Regions from separate parts of the Homo sapiens genome. Here regions 1 and 2 are each linked to region 3. Evidence: promoter capture Hi-C in human tissues and cell types (Jung and others, 2019). All regions are on one chromosome and are shown on one strand. Each heading gives the region's core, a stretch centred on a gene start or on the middle of the fragment in contact. The rest is flanking DNA. Distances are from core to core; before and after follow the strand shown. Region 1 has its middle 9.5 kb from the start of LGALS16. Region 2 has its middle 22 kb from the start of EID2. Region 3 holds the start of LGALS13 (galectin 13).

Region 1 (4,469 bases), core at 1,515-4,014, 62 kb before region 3:
GGTGTTTGTAGTATTCTCTGATGGCAGTTTGTATTTCTATGGGATCGGTGGTGATATCTCCTTTATCATTTTTTATTGCGTCTATTTGATTCTTCTCTCTTTTCTTCTTTATTAGTCTTGCTAGCGGTCTATCAATTTTGTTGATCCTTTCAAAAAACCAGCTCCTGGAAGAATGCTCATTTTTATAAGATAATCCAAATTATTTTCCAAAGTGGTTGTTCTAATTTAAACTCTCACCTCCTGTATTAATTCGAGATGATCTTGTTGATCCACAGTCTCTCCATATTTGTTGATATGGTTTGGCTGTATCCCCAACCAAACCTCAGCTTGAATTCTATCTCCCAGAATTCCCACATGTTGTGGGAGGGACCCAGGGTGAGGTCACTGAATCATGGGGGCCAGTCTTTCCTGTGCTATTCTCATGATAGTGAATAAGTCTCATGAGATCTGATGGGTTTATCAGGGGTTTCTGCTTTGGCTTCCTCCTCATTTTCTCTTGCTGCTGCCATATAAGAAGTGCCTTTTGCCTCCTGCCGTGACTCTGAAGCCTCCCACACCATGTGGAACCGTAAATCCAATTAAACCCCTTTTTCTTCTCAGACTTGAATTTGTCTTTATCAGCAGTGTGAAAATGGACTAATACAGTAATATGGTACCAGTGAAGTGGGGTGCTGCTGAAAAGATACCCAAAAATGTGGAAGCGACTTTGAAACTTGGTAACAGGCAGAGGTTGGAACAGTTTGGAGGACTCAGAAGAAGACTGGAAAATGTGGGAAAATTTGGAACCTCATAGAGACTTGTTGAATGGCATTGACAAAATGCTGATAGTGTTATGAACAATAAGGTCCAGGCTAAGGTGGTCTCAGACGGAGATGAGGAACTTGTTGGGAACAGGAGCAAAGGTGACTCTCATTATGTTTTAGCAAAAAGAGTGGCAGCATTTTGCCCCTGCCCTAGAGATCTGTGGAACACTGAACTTGAGAGAGATGATTCAGGGTATCTGGTGGAAGAAATTTCTAAGCAGTAAAGTATTCAAGAGGAGACTCAGATGATGTTAAAGACATTCAGTTTTATAAAGGAAGCAGAGCATACAAGTTTGGAAAATTTGCAGCCTGACAATGTGATAGAAAAGAAAATGCCATTTTCTGAGGATAAATTCAAGCTGCCTGAAGAAATTCACATAAGTAGTGAGAAGCTGAATGTTAATCCCCAAGACAATGGGGAAAGTGTCTACAGGGCATGTCAGAGATCATCACAGCAGCCCCTCCCATCACAGGCCCAGAGGCCTACAAGGAAAAAATGGTTTTGTGGGCCGGGCCCAGGATCACTGTGCTGTGTGTAGCCTAGGGCCTTGGTGCTCTGTGTTTCAGCCACTCCAGCCATGGCTGAAAGGGGCCAACATAGAACTCAGGCCATGGCTTTGAGAGTGCAAGCACCAAGCCTTGGCAGCTTCCACCTGGTGTTGAGCCTGCAACTGCACAGAAGTCAAGAATTGAGATTTGGAAACCTCCACCTAGATTTCAGAGGATGTATGAAAACGCCTGGATGTCCAAGCAGAAGTTTGCTACAGGGGTGGGGCTCTCATGGAGAACCTCTGCTAGGGCCATGTGGAAGGGAAATGTGGAAGGATCAGAGCCCCTACACAGAGTCCCTACTGGAGCACTTCCTAGTGGAGCTGTGAGAAGAGGGACACTGTCCTCCAGACCCCAGATACCTTGCACCATGAGCCTGGAAAAGCTTCAGACACTCAACATCAGCCCATGAAAACAGCCAGGAGGTGGGCTATACCCTGCAAAGCTACAGGGGCAGAACTACACAAGGCCATGGGAGTCCACCTCTTGCATCAGCATGACCTTGATGTGAAACATGGAGTCAAAGGAGATCATTTTGGGGCTTTAAAATTTGACTACCTGGCTGGATTTAGGACTTGCATGGGGCCTGTAACCCCTTTGTTTTGGCCAATTTCTCCCATTTGGAACAGCTGTATTTACTCAATTACCTGTACCCCCATTGTATCTAGGAAGTAACTAGCTTGCTTTGGATTTTACAGGCTCATAGGCAGAAGAGACTTGCCTTTTATCAGATGAGACTTTGGACAGCAGACATTTGGGTTAATGCTGAAATGAGTTAAGACTTTGGGGGACTGTTGGGAAGGCATGATAGGTTTTGAAATGTGAGGACATGAGATTTGGAGGGGCCAGGAGCAGATTAATATGGTTTGGCTATGTACCTACCCACATCTCAGCTTCAATTGTATCTCTCAGAATTCCCATGTGTTAAGGGAGGGACCCAGGGGGAGGTAGTTGAATCCCTTGGGCTGGTCTTTCCCATGCTATTCTTGTTATAGTGAATAAGTCTCACAGGATCTGATGGGTTTATCAGGGGTTTCGTCTTTTGCTTCCTTCTCATATTCTCTTGCCACTGCCATGTAAGAAGTGCCTTTCATCCACTGCTATGACTCTGAGGCCTCCTTGGCCATGTGGAACCATAAATCCATTAAGCCTCTTTTTCTTCCCAGTCTCAGTTATGTCTTTATCAGCAGCGTGAATGTCGACTAATACATTTGGTATTGTCAAACTTCTTAATATTTGTGGAGCGAATAGATATGTAGTATCTTGTGCATTTTCTTGATTACTAATGAGGATGAGAAAATTTTTATGTTTTGGGGGCATTCTCTTTTGTGAAATCCCTATTAATGTCTTTTCCCAATTTTCTTTTGGGATGCTATTTTTAAAATTAATTCATAGGAACTCCTTATACTTTGTTGATTTGATATTAATCTTTCATAGGTTTTAGGTACTGCAAATATCTTCTTCTAGTTTATAGTTTATCTTTTCACTTTTTTACTTTTATTTTTTAATTTTTACTTTTTTTTTGAGACAGAGTCTCACTCTGCCATTCAGGCTGGAGTGCAGTGGCTCACTGTAACCTCCACCTCCCGGGTTCAGAAGATTCTCGTGCATCAGCTTCCCAAGTAGCTGGGATTGCTAGTGTCTGCCACCAATGCCTGGCTAATTTCTTATATTTTCAGTGGAGACAGGGTTTCACCATGTTGGCCAGCCTGGTGTCAAACTCCTGACCTCAGGTGATCTACTGTTGGGATTACAGGCTTGAGACACCATGCCCAGCTTATCTTTTCACTTTTTGATGTAAAAAGTTCTCAATTTTGTGATAGTCAAAACATCTAATCTTTTTTAATGGTTAAATGGCTTTTTGTGTCTCATTCACTTACATTTTCTACTAAAAGTTTTAAAGTTTTGTTTCTGACACATAAGTCTTTGGTCCATCTGGAATTTAATGTTTGTATATAGAGCGAAGAAGGAATATAATTTCATTTTGTTTCCTATATCAGTAACCATTATTTTTCTTTCCTATGTATTGAAAAGTCCTTTCTTTCTTTGCTGATCTGCCATGTCACCTGCATCACATATCAAATATTAAATTTGTGGAGATTTGTTTGGGAGCTCTCTATTCTGTTTCATTGGTCAGTTTATCAATGAAGACCACACTATCTTAATTGCTGTAGCTTTATAAAACTTCTGATATTTGGCAGGAGAAATCTTTCCTTTTCTTTAATAATGTCTTTGACATTCTTGGCCCCTTCCCTTTTCCACATATATATGTATGTATATGTATGTATATATATACATACATATATATGTGTATATATACATACATATATATGTGTATATATACATACATATATATGTGTATATATACATACATATATATGTGTATATATACATACATATATATGTATGTATGTGTGTGTGTGTGTGTATGTGTATATATATATATATATATATATATATATATATATAGAGAGAGAGAGAGAGAGAGAGAGAGAGAGAGAGAGAGAGAGAGTCTCACTTTGTTTCCCAGGCTAGAGTACAGTGGTGCAATTGTAGCTCACTGCAGACTTGAACTCTTGGGCTCAAGAGCTCCTCCTACCTCAGCCGCCCAAGTAACTAGGACTCTAAGGCATGCACCACCACATCCAGCTGATTTTTTAAAAAATTATTATTTTTTGTAACGATGGGGATCTTGCTATGCTGCCTAGGCTGGTCTCAAACTTTTGACCTCAAGCAATCCTCCCACCTCAGGCTCCCAAAGTGCTGGGATTACAAGTGTGAGCCACCACACATGGCTCCAATTTCCATATTTTAAGACCATATTTTAAAAGCTGCTCAAGCCTGCTTTTTTCTCTTGATGCTACTTGCAAATCCCTTACTTAGCTGTGGAAATACTGTTAGTGAAGAAAATCTAAAGAGTCGAAAAATGAAATATTCTTTCTTTTCTTCCAATTGCAAAAGGGCAGACACCCTCCTGCATCATAAAGCTAGTTTTGATAAATTGGTGAACTGAGAGCATACACAGTATTATTAATTCTGTTCTAATTTCTACTCCACTGTGGAGTCTCTTGCATAGTCTTAAAAGATTATTGCTATGAAATATTCTTATACATTTAA
Region 2 (4,491 bases), core at 1,572-4,071, 41 kb after region 3:
CAAGAAGTGTTTCCTGGACACTGAGAAGTGTCTTCTATCTCATGGTGACCTATTCCCCAGCACAGCTGATTAGGGCATGTGTCTTTACTTCTCAAGATATAGGCATAATGATGAGGAATAGTATTTATATGACTCCTGAAAAAATAACAAAGACAAATCCAAGATGTGTAAAGCCTAAAAGTGACTTTGCCAGTGCCTGTTTTATTGTGTCCCAAATATAACCACTTTAAAACTACAGTAATCAAAACAATGTGGTGCTGGCTTAAGGACAGACTTAGAAATCAATCAAATATAAAGGATAGCCAAAAAGTAAACATGCACATAGGTGGTCAGTTGAGATTCAATAAATGTGCCAGGACACCCTTTTGGGAAAGGACCCTCATTTCAACCAGTGATTTTGGGGAAACTGGATATACACATGCATGAGGATGTAGTTGGGACCTTACCATAAGCCACATACAAGAATTAACTCAAAATGTATCAAACAATAAATGTAAGACCTAGAATTTTAATATTTTTAGAAAAAACATCGAAGAATATTTCATGACATAGGATCTTAAAACGATTTCTTGGATATGATTCCAAAAGCACAAGAAACAAAAGAAAAAACAGATAAACTGGATTTCATCAAAATTTAAATTGGGGAGACCTTGCAACATGGCACAATAGAGTGCTCCACCAATCTTACCCCCACGCCTCAAGGACATAAATTTAACAAGTATCTACACAAGAAAAACACCTTCATAAAAACCAAAAGCAGGTGAATCCTCATAGATACCTGGTTTTAACTCTATATCACTGAAGAGATAGAAAAAAACGTCTTGAATTGCCAATGCCAGTCCTTCATCCAGGCAGCAGGAATGTGGTACAGAGTCTCTGGGTACTGGGGTACTGGAGGGAGGAGAGCACAGCAATTGTGAGGTATTGAAGTCATTGCTGTCCTGTTACAGAAGAAAGGCAAATTGGATCAAACTCAGCTGACACACACCAATGGAGGGAGCATTTAAGCCAGGCTTAGCCAGAGGAAAATCCCTGATCCCAGCGGTTGAAACTTGAGTTCCTGCAAACCTTGCCAGTGAGAGCTACGGTACTCTGGTTTTTCAAGTAAGCTTAAAAGGCAGTCTAGGCCATAAGGCCAGAAATTCTTAGGTGAGTCATGGGGTTGAACTGGGCCCAGAGACAATGGACTGGTGAAGAGGGGGTCAGGTGACTTACTGAGACAGCAGCTTTGGTGACTAATGGAGTGCTGGCTTTACCCCTCACTTAACTCCAGGATGCACAGTCTGTGGCTCTAAAAGAGACCCCTTCCTTTCACTTGAGGAGAGGAGAGTTATCACCTGCTAATGGTATCAGCAATACCCAGGTACTATGCTGAGGGTCTTGGATGAGCTTCTAAGATCTGCTGGCTTCAGATGGGACACAGCACATTACCAGTTGTGGTGGCTATGAGGAAAAACTCTTTCTGCTTGGTAAAAGCAGAGAAAAAAGCAAAAGGGACTTCATCTTGCACCTTAGGTACCTGCATGGCCACAAGGGAGTAGAGCACCAAGCAGGCTCTTGGGACCCCTAATTCAGGGACTTGGTTCTTGGATGACATCTATTTACCTGCTTTGGGCCAGACGGAGTTCATTGCCCTGTGGAATGAGTCCTGGGCCTGGCAGCATTCACTATGAGTTGACTTAAGAGACTGTGGGCCTTAAGGAAACATCTGTGGTAGTCTGGCCATACTCTTCATTGTGGCAATGGTTATGGGGTGACCACTGCCTTTGGAAAGAGGAGTGTGGGAAGAACTGCATCTTGTGGTTTGAGTGCCAGCTCTGCTGCAGTAAAATAAAAGCACCATACAGACTTCTAAGGTTTTTGACTTTAGTCCCCAACTTTCAGGTGGCACCTCTGGACCCACCCAAGGCCTAGGGGAACTCACCGCCCTGAAGGAATGCACACAGACCTGGCTTGCTCTGCCATCTGCTGCTTCCAGAGTCCCAGGGCCTTGAGTGAACTTAGGTTGCAACCAGGGAGTGGATACAGAAGGCCTTCAGTGAGATCCAGTGCTATACTGGATTCAGGTCTGACCCAGTCATAGTGGTGGTGACCACAACGGTGCTTTTATTAGTCTATCCCCAGCTTTAGGTGTCTCAAAACACACACACACACACACACACACACACACACACACACACTGTTTTTTTGGGGGGAGAAAGAAAGGGAAAAGGGCAAAAGTCTCCGCATTGTAATCCAGAGAATTATCCTGGAACTTGTCCAAGATCATCAAGGTGGTAACTGTATGAGTCTGCAAGAATCACAACATTACTGGTTTTTAGTTCACCCCAAAGGAGATACAGCTTAAATCAAAACATTCAAGTGTTTGGAATATCTGGTATGCCTTCAAAAAAAGGACAGGTACAAATAAGCCTAGACAGTGAAGACCACTCTAAATACCTAATTACTCAATGATCAGACACTGAAGAACATCTGCTAGTGTCAACACTATCCAGGAAAGCATGATCTCCCCAAATAAACTAAATAAGCACCAGGGAGAAGCAGAGACCTTTCAGACAGGAAATTTAATTTAGCAGTGTTAAGAAAACTCAAATAAATTCAAGATAACACAGAGAAGGAATTCAGAATTTTATTAGATAAGTTAACCGAAAAGTTTAAAATAATTAAAAGGACTCAAACAATAGTTCTGGAGCTGAGAAATGGAGCCATAAAAAGGAATGATATCGTGCCCTTTGCAGGGACATGGATGAAGCTCAAAGCCATCATCCTCAGCAAACTAACATAGGAACAGAAAACCAAACACTGCACGTTCTCACTCATAAATGGGAGCTGAACAGTTAGAACACACAGACACGGAGAGGGAAACAATACACACTGGGGCCTGTTGGTGGGGGCAAAGAGAGGGAGAGCATCAAGACAAACAGCTAATACATGTGGAGCTTAATACATAGGTGACAGGTTCATAGGTGCAACAAACCACAATGGCACATGTTTACCTATGAAACAAACCTGCATGTTCTGCACATGTATCCCAGAACATAAAGCAAAATAAAATACAAAAATGCAATTGGCATACTGAATAATGCATCAGTCTTTTAACAGCAGAATTGATCAAGCAGAAGAAAATATTAGTGAGCTTGAAGACAGGCTATTTGAAACACACAGCCAGAGGAGACAAAAGAAGAAGGAGTAAAAAACAATGAAGCCATGAAACATGGCTATAGGATCTAGAAAAATAGCTTCAAAAAGGCAAACCTAAGAGTTACTGGCCTTAAAGAAAAAGTAGAGAAAGAAATAGTGGTAGAAAGTTTATTTAAAAGAATAATAACAGAGAACTTCCCAAACCTGGAAAAGGAGATCAATATCCAAGTACAAGCAGGTTATAGAACACCAAGACAATTTAACCCAAAGAAGACTAATTCAAGCTACTTAATAATCAAACTTTCAAAGGTCAAGAGCAAAGAAAAAATCCTGCAAGCCCCAAAGAAAAAAAATAGCATACAATGCAGCTGCAATACACCTGGCAGCAGATTTTTTAGTGGAAACACACACAATATTATAACACTGTAACCGTGATGTGTAAACTACTCATTTCCTAAATAGAAAGACTAAACAATGAACCAATAATAATAATAATAACTGCAACTTTTGAAGATATACACAGTAAAATAAGATATAGGCAGAAATAACTAAAAGTTAAAAGGCGGGGGGATGAAGTTAAAGTATAGAGTTTCTATAAGTTTTCTTGTTGCTTGTTTTTTTTAAGTAAAGGGTGTTAAGTAGCTATCATGTTAAAATAATGGGTTATAAAATAGTATTTGCAAGCCTCATGGTCACCTTGAACCAGAAAACATACAATGGATTCACAAAAAAAAACACAAACCATAAAAAGCAAGAAACTAAATTGTATCGCCAGACAAAATTATCTTCAGTAAGGAAAGATAGTAAGAAACAAAGGAAGAGAAGACCAAAATACAGCTAGAAATCAAACACCAAAATGGCAGGACTAAGTCTTTACTTAATTATCAATGAAAACATTGAATGAAAATGGACTAGACTCTCCAATCAAAACACATAGAGTGGCTGAATGGATGAAAAAACAAAAACAATTGATCTGTTGCCTACATGAAACACACTTCACCTATAAAGGCACACATATACCGAAGATAAAGAAATAGAAAAAGATGTTCCATGCTAATAGAAATGAAACAAAACAGGTGTAGCTATATTTATATTGGACAAAATATATTTTGAGACAAAAACTCTAAGCAGAGACAATAAAGTCAATATATAATGAATAAGACATCAACTCAGCAAGAAGATATAACAGTTTTAAATATATGTGCACCAAAGAGTGGAGCACCCAGGTATATAAAGGAAATATTATTAGAACTAAAGAGAGAGATAGGCCCCAATACAATAATAGCTGGAGATTTCTATGTTTCATTTTCAGCATTGGACAGGTCTTCCAGACAATACAAACAAAGAACG
Region 3 (4,564 bases), core at 519-3,018:
TACTTTGTAGGATGTTCTCCGTAATAGGGAGTTAATACATGTAAAAGTGTTACCCTAATCCCTGTCATGCGTAGGGCCTCTTAGGGTGACCTAACAGGACAGGAGAGTCCTCTTGAAAGACTGACCTGCCTTCATTTTCAACTCTGAAAATTAAAACAAGACTTGTAAATGTAAGAATTTAAACATTCACTCCAGTGAGAAACAACACTTGTTGAAAGGGAGAGGGAAATGATGAAAGAACAGGAAACCCCTGTGTGTGGGATGCACATGCATCACTATCATCAAGGGCCATGGACATCCTTCCAAGAAGGGGCACACACTACTGAGAGCACAGCCCCAGTACTTGCACAAATGAAGCTTGTGGGTCAGGGACATAACTGGAGGGAATGATTGATTTCTATGATGACTACAAGTAGATGAGATGATTTTTCTGTACTTTTGAGATAGGTTCTTGCTCTGTCACCCAGGCTGACATGCAGGGATGCAATCATGGTTCACTGAAACCTCAGACTCCTGGGCTGCAGTGAATCTCACACATCTGCTCCCTCTTGAATAGCTGGGAAGAAAGGTACCTGCCTCTCTGCCAGTCAAATATTTAAAGTTTTTTAAAGAAAGGGTCTCACTCTGATACCCAGACTGGTCTCAAACTTCTGGCCTCGTTATCCTCTCATCTTTGCCTCCAAAATTGGTGGGATTATAGCCATAAGCCAGTGAACCCAGCTGCTTGGTTGATTAATATCCACTGTAAGCTCCTTCTGAACTGAGACTTAACTTGTTCTTTCATGGGTGTAGAACAAGTTTAGTCTCAGTTCAGACAGAGCTTACAGTGGATATTTTGTGTGATTCAGTCTCTGAAATCACGGCCTCTAATGTCCTTCCCTAACAAACCAGTATCTGCACACCCTCCTGTCACACAGTGGGAAGAACTGGATGGGCTAGGGACAGGCAAGCTGAGCCTGGGAGGCAAGAGACAGTGGTCACTCTGTGCAGACCCCACCTGAGGAACCATCACCCCCATAGTCTGCATTCCTCTTCCCCACTCTTACTGGGAAGAGACATCTACTGATCATACATTCTGCTCTCACAAGTGATCTGAAATAAGTCCTTGGTAACTCACAATCCCCAAGATCCCCACCAGTTAAGCCACATGGGATTCACATCAGAGGTGCTGCTGTGTGGGGAGAAACATTCACATGTGAAGAAAGCCACATGCATGATCCCACTTCAACATACAGTCACATCCCAGCACACACACTCACAGTCACACAGAGCCACACCACTCACTGCGTCACACACACCTGCTCACTGTGCACATAACGATGCTCATGCACTGGTCTGGCTGTGCTCACACACATACTCACATCATAGACAGGAAACAAAGCCGACTCACCCCTTTACTCTCCATTCACACACCTGCTCGTCCTGGTGGGTAATCCACCTCCCACTTAAAGTCACATTATCTCCGCAGAGTTTATGCTCATCAGACACCACCTCACACTCACCGAAGGTTACACTGGTCCAGGGTCCACACCGCAATCCCCACAAGCATCTCAGATACCATAGCCTCAGGGTTTCTATTCCACACCTCAATAGCTCTAAGTAAAGCATTCACAGCAAAAATGCTCATATTTTCATCTCATAAAATCTCCCATTTCTTTCTTGGTTTGTGTGACACGAAATTTTTGAAGGCTGTGCCTTTTCAACTCACGGGTAAAGAAGACATTGTTCTCTCCTTCTTGGCGACCTTCAGAATTGAGTCCAGTCTTCTGAGTGAATCTCTGAGTTGCAGCATTTAAATGACCCACTTCAGCCTTGCCCTCGGGCTTCATTCCAGATTCCAAGCTCCTCCCAGCAAGATTTCCTTGCAGCTTTAGACAGGTTTAGTTGTTAGGAAGAAACTCAGTCACAACCATAGCTATTTGCAGGTCTGTATCTGTAATGCAGCAGAAGTGACAGTGGGGGAGTTACCAGGCTGTGGATTGGGTTACCAGGGAAATGCATAGATAAAGATGATGGAGTGAGCGGTAGTGGTTGTAAAGCCCAGCCTTTATGCCTCTCAAGCCTTTTCTCATCTATGCAGAATATACCCAGAAAGTGTACATTTTCCCAATTTGTACAACGGCTGAAAAGAAAAAAGTTGGAGATTTTGGGGAAATACATTAGCCCTAGAAGGTAATGATTCTCTCTGCTTTTGAACGTTCTGGGAGAGCACTGACCTTGATCCTCAGGAGGATCTGTGGAGAGAAGCAGAGAAATTTCTTGCATGAACCTATTCCACACTAGGCTGCTTGGCTCTGCCAGGTAAGGGCCACTCTCACCTGACTGTCACACACCTGGGCTCTAGCTACACCCTCTCCTTTCTCTTGGTGTCCATGTAAATAAAAGTTTCAGAGACACTGTTTCTCCTGCAGATTCTGGGAGGAAGGTGAGATTGTTGTTTTTATTTGATTTTTCTTTCATTTTATTTTAGGTTCGGGGTACATATGCAGATAAAGTCGTGTCATGGGATTTGTGGTGTATATGATTTCTTCACCTGGTTACTAAGTGTAGTACTCAAAAGTTATTTTTTTTCTCCTCTTCCACCTTTCATCCTCCACCCTCAAGGAGGCCCCAGTGTGTGTTGTTTCCCTCTTGATGTCCATGAGCCTCCTCATTTAGTTCACGCTGATAAGTGAGAACATGCAGTATTTGGTTTTCTGTTCCTGCATTAGTTTGCTAAGAATAATGGCCTCCAGTTCCATCCATGTTCCTGCAAAAGACATAATATCATTCTTTTTTAGGACTGCATAGTATTTCATTGTGTACATGTACCACATTTTCTGTAACCGATCTGTCATTGATTGGCATTTGGGTTCATTCTGTGTCTTCGCTATTGTGCATAGTGTTGCAATGAACATTCATGTGCATATGTCTTTATGGCAGAATGATTTCTTTTCTTCTGGGTATACACCCAGTGATGGGATTGCTGGGTTGAATGGTAGATCTATTGTTAGCTCTTTGAGGAATCACCACACTGCTTTCCACAATGGGTGAACTAATTTACACTGTCACCAACAATGTGTGAGTTCTCCCTTTTCTCCACAACCTTGAAGCATCTGTCCTTTTTTGACTTTTTAATAACAGCCATTCTGACTGGTGTGAGATGGTATCTCACTGTGGTTTTGATTTGCATTTCTCTAATGTTCAGTGATATTGAGCTTTTTTATATGTTTTTTGGCCACCTGTATCCTTACTTTTGAAAAGTGTCTGTTCGTGTCCTTTGCTCAACTTTTTTGTTGTTGTTTTAAAACAGGTCTCACTCTGACATTCAGGCTGGAGTGATGTGGCACCATCTTGGCTCACTGTAACCTCTGGCTCCGGGGCTCAGGTGATTTTTCTAAGCTCAGTCTCCTGAGTAGCTGGGACTACAGGTGCATGTCTCCATGCTAGGCTATTTTTTTTTTCTATTTTTAGTAGAGATGGGTTTTTGCCATGTTACCCAGCCTGTTCTCAAATTCCTGGGCTCAAGTGATCCACCAGCCTTGGTTGCCCAAAGCGCTGGGATTACAGGCATGAGCCACTGTGTCAAGCTCTTTACCCACTTTTTTATGGGTTTGTTTGTTTCTTTCTCGTGAAGTTGTTGAAATTTCTTATAAATGCTCGGATATTAGACCTTCTTCAGATACATAGTTTGAGAACATTTTCTCCCATTCCTTAGGCTGTCTGTTTACTCTCTTGATAGTTTCCTTCACTGTACAGAAGCTCTTTAGTTTAATTAGATTCTGTTTGTCAATTTTTGCTTTTCTCCTAATTGCCTTTGACATCTTCATCATGAAATTTTTCTCATGCCTATGTCCCACATGGTATTGTCTAGGTTGTCTTCCAGGATGTTTATAGTTTTGGGTTTAATCTTTTAAGTCTTTAATCTATCTTTTGTATATGGTGTAAAGAAGGGGTCCAGTTTCAATCTTCTGCATATGGCTAGCCAGTTCTCCCAGCACCATTTCTTGAATAGGGAGTCCTTTTTCCATTGCTTGTTTGGTCAGCTTTGTTGAAGACCAGATGGTTGTAGGTTTGTGGCCTTATTTAGGGCTTTCCATTCTGTTCCATTGGTCTGTGTGTCTCTTTTCATACCGATACCATGCTGTTTTGGTTACTGTAGCCTTGTAGTATATTTTGAAGTTGGGTAATTTGATGCCTCCAGTTTTGTTCTTTTCACTTAGAATTGCCCCGGTTATTTGGCATTTTTTTGGTTCCATTTAAATTTTAAAATAATATTTCTTCTAATTCTGTGAAGAATGTCATTCATAGTTTGAGACAAATAGCCTTGCATCTAAATTTCTTTGGGCAGTATGGCTGTCTTAATGATAATTGGTTTTTCTTATCTATGAGCATGGAATGTTTTTCTATTTCTTTGTGTCATCTCTGGTTTCCTTGAGTAGTGTTTTGTAATTCTCATTGTAACGATCTTTTACCTCCCTGATTAGCTGTATTTTTAGGTGTTTTATTCTTTTTATGGCAAATTTGAATGGAATTGCATTCTTGATTTGTCCCTGTCGCTGTTGTTGGCATATAGGAGTTCTAG

The links. The method cuts DNA at HindIII sites, captures the fragments that hold promoters and counts their contacts. A contact is called where the count stands out against the background at its distance.
Region 1: a fragment that was not itself captured here is called in contact with the fragment with the promoter of LGALS13 in region 3 in 1 of the 25 tissues and cell types used here (bladder).
Region 2: a fragment that was not itself captured here is called in contact with the fragment with the promoter of LGALS13 in region 3 in 2 of the 25 tissues and cell types used here (H1 embryonic stem cells and lymphoblastoid cells).

What each region holds. Positions count from the first base shown.
Region 1 is chr19:39,663,141-39,667,609 of GRCh38, reverse strand. No RefSeq gene overlaps it. Among named protein-coding and RNA genes, the nearest start is that of LGALS16, 9.5 kb to the right of the region's middle. The HindIII fragment of the contact is 4,209 bases long and covers 660-4,469 here.
Region 2 is chr19:39,560,257-39,564,747 of GRCh38, reverse strand. No RefSeq gene overlaps it. Among named protein-coding and RNA genes, the nearest start is that of EID2, 22 kb to the right of the region's middle. The HindIII fragment of the contact is 4,623 bases long and covers 510-4,491 here.
Region 3 is chr19:39,599,728-39,604,291 of GRCh38, reverse strand. It overlaps LGALS13 (galectin 13), which reads right to left and starts at 1,768. Exons shown (of 4, transcript NM_013268.3): 1 at 1,709-1,768. The coding sequence starts at 1,723. The HindIII fragment of the contact is 10,640 bases long and covers 1-4,564 here.